Regions from separate parts of the Homo sapiens genome. Here region 1 is linked to region 2. Evidence: promoter capture Hi-C in 16 types of primary human blood cells and fetal thymus (Javierre and others, 2016). All regions are on one chromosome and are shown on one strand. The core of a region is centred on a gene start or on the middle of the fragment in contact, and the rest is flanking DNA. Distances in the headings are between cores, read along the strand shown. Region 1 has its middle 9.5 kb from the start of CES1. Region 2 holds the start of CAPNS2 (calpain small subunit 2).

The links. Contacts are between HindIII fragments. The CHiCAGO score rates a contact against its expected background, and 5 or more counts as called.
Region 1: a contact is called between a fragment that was not itself captured here and the fragment with the promoter of CAPNS2 in region 2, in 2 of 17 cell types (monocytes and M2 macrophages). The highest score is 8.4, in monocytes.

The regions. Positions count from the first base shown.
Region 1 is chr16:55,840,472-55,844,768 of GRCh38, forward strand. No RefSeq gene overlaps it. Among named protein-coding and RNA genes, the nearest start is that of CES1, 9.5 kb to the left of the region's middle. The HindIII fragment of the contact is 6,371 bases long and covers 1-4,297 here.
Region 2 is chr16:55,564,452-55,568,916 of GRCh38, forward strand. It overlaps CAPNS2 (calpain small subunit 2), which reads left to right and starts at 2,233. Exons shown (of 1, transcript NM_032330.3): 1 at 2,233-3,236. The coding sequence starts at 2,306. The coding sequence ends at 3,052. The region is part of intron 11 of LPCAT2 (lysophosphatidylcholine acyltransferase 2); the gene reads left to right. The HindIII fragment of the contact is 9,105 bases long and covers 310-4,465 here.

The DNA.
Region 1 (4,297 bases), core at 926-3,425, 280 kb after region 2:
CTTTCTTTCTTTCTTTTCTTTCTTTCTTTCTTCTCTTTTTTTTTTTTTTTTTTTTTTTTTGAGACAGAGTCTCGCTCTGTTGCCCAGCCTGGAGTGCAATGGCACAATCTTGGCTCACTGCAACCTCTGTCTCCCAGGTTCAAGTGATTCTCCTTCCTCAGGCTCCCGAGTAGCTGGGATTATAGGCACCCACCACCAGCTATTTTTTTTTTTTTTTGGTATTTTTAGTAGAGACAGGGTTTCACCATGTTGGTCAGGCTGGTCTCGAACTCCTGACCTCAGGTAATCCATCCACCTTGGCCTCCCAAAGTGCTGGGATTATAGATGTGGGCCAGCATGCCCAGCCCAAATTGCTTTTTCAATGGCTGACATCTGATTGGTGGGCCTGCCATACCTAAATAATGATAAAACCTTTATTTTAAAGCACTATTCTCTAGGAATAATTCTGAATGAGCCCAAAGATATATGTATCAGGTGGTCACCTCAGTGAAGTTGACAATGGTACAAAATAGGAAATCATTCGAATGGCTAACAATAGTAGACAGTTAAATAATTTATTGAGTATTATACTATGGGATGCAATGTAGCTGTCAGAAAGGTAGAAAAAATTGTTTTTAAATGTTTGTGTAAAGGAAAAACGGTTTACCACTTCCTGTGAAAGAAGAGGGATCCAAAATTTTTTATTTCCCCCCTCCAATTATCCTAAAAAAAAACAGTGAAATAAAGTTTTTAAAGCTACAAACCCACACTGACAAACTGTGAAAGAAGAAATGACAGCATTTTGGACACTGAGAGGCCAACAGAATGACGATAACTAGTTTTAGAACAGAAAAAGGAGACGTTAACTCCTGGAAAGAAAGACACCACCATGCACCTATGCAATCAGAATAGAGACAGAAAAGACTCTCTGGGTTTAGGGGTATTGGATGCCTGTAGAAGTTGGGGTGTAGGTAACCCCCATTTATGCCCATGGGGAGTGCACCTCTCCCCTTTGAGCTCCACCCCAAGGCCAAAGTTTCCTGGAGGCTCTTTGCCTCTGCCACTCCTAGAACTGGGCTGACCCCAGGAACTCCAACCACCTAATTACAACAGAATATCGGAAGGGCCTTGCCAGATGTCAACATAAGATGATTTCTGTCCAGAGATCTGAGTGTCAAAAGGAAGAAGTTTCCCAAAGCTCATGTAATGGCTGCAGTAATGATGACTCTTGATGAAGTCAATGCCTGGCCACCAAACAAGCTCTCATGATGGTGGACAAGTTTGTCCTTGCCTTCATATTACTAATTGGCCATCAACAGTCCATTTTTCCCATTGAATAACTTATTTTCAGAAATGTGCTTCTATAACTCAATTGTTGCATGCAGTGAAACTAATGGAGGACTTATATAGTGATAAATAACAATCAAAGTGTACCAATCCTTCTAAAAATACCGAAGGTATCAGCCAGAGTTCTGTTCTCTCATATGAAAAGTTCAGGAGGTGAATAGAGCTTGAAACACAATTACATAAATAAATGTAATAAATGAAATAAATAGATTAGATAGATAATAGATAGATCATAGATAATTGATAGATGATAGATAATAGGTAGGTAGGTAGATAGGTAGATAGACAGACAGACAGACAGACAGACAGACAGACAGACAGATAGATAGATAGATATTTTATGGCATTATCTTCCGATAAAGAGAGAAGTCTGTTTCCTAAAGGTCAAGGTAGAAAAGCTGTCCTCCAGGCACCCACAGTGTGCTCCAGCAACCTTGCCAACACCAGCCCTGCTGCCCGTGGGCTGGCCCCCTTGCCACCACTGCTCAGGGTCACACTTCCGCCATGCTGTGGCTGGCCATCCCCCTTCCTACCCATCCTTTAATTTCAGACTTGAGCTCCACCCCATTCATGGAGCACAGCGAGCTCTTTGCAATGAATTTCCTTGTATTTTGAGACAATCAAGCGGCAAGGTAGGTTTTTTTCTCCCCAGCCCTTCCCGTCCTTGGGAATAATGAGGCACACTCTCAATACGAACTTTTAGCAGAGCATACGGGGCAGGACTGAGTGGGATCTGTCCCTGCTGGGGGAAGGGAGGCTCATCTTGTAGATGCGCTACCTGGGGCAGCACCAGGTGGGGCAGCTACCCAGGTGCAGGGCCTGAGCCCGCTTCCCACCCTCCCCTGCAGCTCTGCCCTGGGGGAATCTGGACTGAGTTGGTCCAAGGAGAGGAAATCCCTTATGTCCCTCTGAGGTAGGCTCCTGGAGACTTAATGGGAAAGTCCAGGAGGTGGAAAAGGGAAAAACTGCTGGCTCCAACCTCTGTTCTGCTAGTGAGTTTAGTCTTTTCAGTCAGACTTTTCAGGGAGTGGATTCTGCCTTTTCCTCTTTCCAAATGTTACAGATGGAATGGATAACACTATATTGTATTGGCTTGTATATAATTTAACTATTTGGCATGGTCTTATTGTCAGTCCAAGTTCTGCGATGTCACACCACCAGCATCTCAGGAGCCTCAGAATAGAGGGAAGCGTTTTTCCTTTGTGATAATGCTGCCCTCTACTGGACATCAGGAAATTCACAGGTGAAGACCGACGTAGTTTGTCCCTAAAGTTTTGCTTTGATTTAATTTAATGGATAGGGTTCAAGATTGTTTAAAAAAAAGGGGAGAGTGGGGAGGGGGAGGCAGTGGGTCCTGGAAAAGTAAATTGTTTATTTTACAATAAGAAAGTGGTTAAATATTTTATTTTTTTTACAATGGTGGAAAATTAGAAGTGATTGTGAAAATGATGTGTACCTGTCTTGCTGGTGAGTAGGATGTGATTTGGCGCTTTAGGAAAGTGAATTTGTAGAACTCAAAAATATTGACTTATAAAGGGCATGGCCGTTGACCCAGTCCATCTTATGCAAATCTAGATGCCATAAATAATATTTAAAAGTAAAAATACTGGGGTGGAGGTTGCAGTGGGCAGAGATCGCGCCACTACACTCCAGCCTGGGTGAAAGAGTGAGACTCTGTCTCAAAACAAAACAAAAAAAAAGAAGTCATTCCCAATGTTGCTCATCAAATTATGACCATAAATATCCAGGATAAGACTAGTGGCTAAAGAAACTGTGACACGTCAACACCAGGCAGAAAATAAAGCAGATTTTTTTGTTGTTTTGGAGAGCCTCTAGGAACTTGAAAAATACATATGCCACACTCTTAAGACCCAGTGGTTCTTAATCGGGGTGTTCATTAAAATGCCAGAAAACTGAAAATACTTCTAGGTCCCATCCAAGGAGATTTTGCTTCCGATTGACTGGCTAGTGGCCTGGCCATTGGTATTTTAGAAAAACCCTCCAAGTGATTATTTTACTTACATTCCAGATAGAAAACTCTAAATTAAAGGGGAAAAAAACAGACACAAAGTGGCATTTAAATAAATGTCAACTTTAACTCCACAAAGCATCTGATTGCATGTGGACAGAAAGAGAAGGAAAGAGGGCCCTATATCTGGATAACTTAGAAATGTGCTCCCCCTAGCAAGATATCTACCAAAATTAGAAACACATTTGAGGATGCTGGCACTGCGAGCAATATATAAATGATGCGTGTAATGTCATTTAATATGATCGTATTTTTAAAAATGAGTTGAGTGGTGTTTTCTAGCTGTTAGTTTTTCCAAATATCAATATAGAAATTAGTCTTCTGCAGCTGCAGAGGCAATTCAGTTTCCAGCTTGCTTTCACGGCCTAGAGCCATAAAGTGGCCCAGAGCATCTCTGATCCACCCCTCCCACAACCACCTAATCCAGAGACAACCGAATGCTTTGGACCATCTGATGAGAGAGGTAGCTGCATGGCAGTAAGAGTCCTGCTCTGAAGTGACAAGAGCCTTAAGGCCTGGTTTTGACTTACTGCTAACTTGCTCACACTGCATACTTGCTGAGTGATCTTGGGTGAATCGTTTCACCTCTCTGAGGTTCACTATGAAATGAGAGGTCAAGGGTCCAAACTTAAACACCTTCAGAGGTTGGGTAATATCAGTGAGTAAAATAGACCAGGCACAGCACAAAGGGGTATGGTGTGGACTGTGGCACGTTGAGAACTTAGGCCTCTGCAAAGGGGGCAGCCACCTCTCAGTTCCTGCAGATTACTCTATCTTTGCTGAGGACAGTTGCACAGGTAGTGCACTGCAGAAGGGTAACACTTTAGAGAAGGTGTCATTTGCATCATAAATGCAGATATTTATCCATGGCAGTTTCATGGAAGATGTCTGTAGAAGGTTTTGAGGAAGGGGCACCTTGTAATTTGCATAAAAGGTTGTATG
Region 2 (4,465 bases), core at 983-3,482:
AAACCTACAGTAATCAAAACAGTGCAGCACTGGTTTCAAGAAAGACATATAAGCCAATGGAATAGAATAGAGATCCCAGAAGAAACCCTTGTGTATATGGTCATATGATTTTCAGCAAGAATGCCAAAACCATTCAATGGGGAAAGGACGGTCTTTTCAACAAATAGTGCTGGGAAAATTATATATCCACATGCAAAAGAATGAAGTTGGACCCTTAACTTACACATATACAAAAGTTAACTCAAAATGGATCAAAGATCTAAACATAAGAGCTGAAACTATAAAACTCTTCAGTGAAAACAGAGGAAAAGCTTCATGACACTGGATTTCTCAATGATTTCTTGAATATTACGCCAAAAGCACAGGCAGCCAAAGAAAAATAGATAAATATGACCACATACAAATTTTAAACTTTTGTGCATCAAAGGACACTAACAACAGAGTGGAAAGGTAACCTACAGAATGAAAGAAAATATTTACAAATTATATATCTGATAAGGGATTAATATCTAGAATATTTAAAGAACTCCTGCAACTCAACAACAAGAAACCCAACAAATAACCAGATTTTAAAATGGCCAAAAGATTTAAATAGACATTTTTCCAAAGATCTTCTTTGGTCAGTAAGTATTAATACATTAAAAGATGCTCAACATCATTAATCATTAGGGTAATGCAAATCAAAACTACAATGTTATACCACTTTACAGCCATTAGGATGGCTATTATTAGAAAACAAAACAAAAGAGAAAATAACAAGTGTTTGCAAGCATATGGAGTAATTGGAACTCTTGTGTATTGCTGGTGGGGATGTAAGTGGTACAGTCAATAAGGAAAAGCGTATGGTAGTTCCTTAAAAAGATAAAAATAGAATTATCATATGATTCAGCAATTCCACTTCTTGGTATATACCCAAAAGAATTGAAAGCAAAGACTCAAACAAATATTTGTATACCCATGTTCATAGCAGCATTATTCCCAATAGCCAAAAGGGCAACCCAAGTATTCACCAATGGGATAATGGAAAAACAAAATGAGTATATTAATGCAATACAATATTATTCATCATTAGAAAGGAAGGGAATTCTGACACATGATACAACATGGATGAATCTTGAAGAAATTATGCTCATTGAAATAAGCAAGTCACAAAAGAACAAATACTGTATGATTCCACTTATATAAGGCATGCAGAGTAGTCAAATCATAGAGCTAGAAAATAGAGAGATGGTTACCAGGGGTGGGGGAAGGGGAGAATGGGAGTTATTCTTTAATGGGTACAGTTTCAGTTTTGCCAGATGAAAAAAGTTCTGAAGATAGCTGGTGGTGATGGTTTCACAATGCAAATATACTTAATGCCACTGAACTCTATACTTAAAAATGGTTAAAATAGTATATTTTATGGCATGTGTATTTTATCACAATTTTAAAACATTTAACATTTTTATAATGAAAAAGGAATAAATGAAAGAGTCTGTACTGTCTGATTTAATTTATTTAAGGTGCAAAAATAAATCTATGGTGTTAGATGTCAGGACAGTGGTTATCCTTGGAAGACGGAAGTAACTAGAAAGAAGTATGAAGAGGCCTCTGAGATGTGTGCAGTCTGTGAAATTCTTTGAGCTATCCATTTGTGATTTATATGATACATTTTTTACATGAATGTTACATTTCAAAAAAGATTTTAGCAATGTCGATCACAGACACCACAGCAGCCCTATGGAATCAGAATCTCTGGGAGTGGAAATTCAGGACCTTGCATTTTAAAAATCTCCCTTCTAAATTTTTCTTAAGACTACTGGATTTTGAGAATCTTTGCTAAAGGAAGAGGATTAAATATTCTTCCAATGCCCAAGATTTCTTCAATTCTATTCTAACAATAAATATTTCTTAGAGAATAAATTTTTGATTTCCTTGCATCATTTACCTTTTTCCTGTTAGGAAAATGCACATCATTTTTTAGGTGCTGAGACAGAGGACTAAGAAATCAATGACATAAAAATGCATACTTTAATATTTTTTCTTTAAAACTATTATCCTAAGGTGTCCTACATACTATAATTTATAAGTATCTGGAAGAGTGAAAACAATTTTATTGAGGCCTTGTAAAATATGGCAGGTGCTAGGACCTCATGGAACTCAGGTATCTTCAGTAGGATGTGAAACATCACATCATGGGGCGTGGTGCAGTGTAAGCAGGTAAAGAAAAGCCAGTTCTTCCACATGTAAACTACTTGAACTCCATTTCATCTTTTTTCATACCATCTCTAAGATTGCTGCCGCATTTGCTTGTTAAACTGAAAGCATGTTTCTTGCAAAGGCTCTATTGGAAGGAGCAGATCGAGGTCTTGGAGAAGCTCTTGGAGGCCTCTTTGGAGGAGGTGGTCAGAGAAGAGAAGGAGGAGGAAGAAATATTGGAGGGATAGTTGGAGGAATTGTGAATTTTATCAGTGAGGCTGCAGCAGCTCAGTATACTCCAGAACCGCCTCCCACTCAGCAGCATTTCACCAGTGTGGAGGCCTCAGAAAGTGAGGAAGTTAGGCGATTTCGGCAACAATTTACACAGCTGGCTGGACCAGACATGGAGGTGGGTGCCACTGATCTGATGAATATTCTCAACAAAGTCCTTTCTAAGCACAAAGATCTTAAGACTGACGGTTTTAGTCTTGACACCTGCCGGAGCATTGTGTCTGTCATGGACAGTGACACGACTGGTAAGCTGGGCTTTGAAGAATTTAAGTATCTGTGGAACAACATCAAGAAATGGCAGTGTGTTTATAAGCAGTATGACAGGGACCATTCTGGGTCTCTGGGAAGTTCTCAGCTGCGGGGAGCTCTGCAGGCCGCAGGCTTCCAGCTAAATGAACAACTTTACCAAATGATTGTCCGCCGGTATGCTAATGAAGATGGAGATATGGATTTTAACAATTTCATCAGCTGCTTGGTCCGCCTGGATGCCATGTTTCGTGCCTTCAAGTCTCTGGATAGAGATAGAGATGGCCTGATTCAAGTGTCTATCAAAGAATGGCTGCAGTTGACCATGTATTCCTGAAGTGGGAACTGAGAAGTCAAGATCCTCCCTGGAGGACAGGACTGAAAACCTTGCCAAGCTGTACACAGTTGCTGATACCCTGTGCAACAGCTCTCATTTCCTGGCAAGCTCTTTCACAACCCTACATATTTCTGATCATGTGCTGCCTTTTACTGCTGAATTAAAACAGATATTTCACGAAAAATGTTCTGAGTGGTTTGTATATCAGCTTTTTGAGATTTGGATTTATATGGACTTGCATATATATGGTGGGGAGGTTGTGGGGTAGAGTTCTAATGGAGTAGATTTTAAAAGGTGTTGCTTATTTAGTGAATAAATTCCAAGGAGTAGGAACTTTATTATTGTTGTTATTGTTGTTAAGAATGAATTTTTTTAATCCTAGAATAAATCAAGAAAGCCCTCAGGAGATACATTTTCCATTTTAAAAAGTTGAGGAGAGAGGTTCAAAATCTGTTTTTCTTGTAATTTTATACCTGGTTTTCCCATTATGTAAAAAAATGAAAAGTGCTTTTTAGGAAACTTATTTAACCATAAAGAAACAGGTTCAGACAATGAAATTAAGCAGTTTTATATAAGGGTAGCATTTTTTTAAATGATGGAGCTACTATCTAAAATTCTAAAGTTCTTTAATTCTGTTTCTTTAGTAAAAAAAAGCACTAGCAATTTTGTTTTGATACATTTGTAAAGAGAGTCAAAGACATTGAGGAATAAAACAATATGCTCATAGTTCAAAAATGTCTCTAGCTGCCTTAATGAATCAAAATGTTTGCTCTTACACGTACTTCATACAAAATCAGGCATGCCCTGTTGACGTTAGCCAGCTCTTGTCGTGTCTTGTCCTGCCTTAGAGCAAGGAAAATTCTTTTGTTCATCTTTGAAAACTACAGGCAGGAAATAAGCAGCAAACAAAGAAAAACAAAAAAAGAAAAACACATGAACAGTAATCAGTTAAATGGAATGTAAACCAATATAGAGAACACATATTGCTGACTATTGCAATTATTCTCAGCCCTGGCTGCAATTTGGAATCACTGGGAGAGCTCTTTAGGAATACTAATACTTGAGTCTCCAAATATGTTAAATAAGACTTTTTAGAGGTGGGGCCCAGAGATGAATATGTTTAAAGCTCCCCAAGTGATTCTAATGATCAGCCAAGGTTGACAGCCTTGATTGCTTTGAAGTAGGGCCACCTCACAGTATTTTTCAAGCCTGTCTCAGCCAAAACTAAGGCCATGCAGGAGAGTCAGTGTTGCCAGCATTCAGGAGAAGGAAGATAGAAATACCAAGAAAATGCCACCCAAAAGCTGGGGTAGTTGTGCCTTTCTTGCGTACAGACCTTGGTTTGGCTTTATAATTTTGATAATAGGCTAATATAGCAGAGCAAACAGAATCCAGGATTCCGGTGCCAGTAGA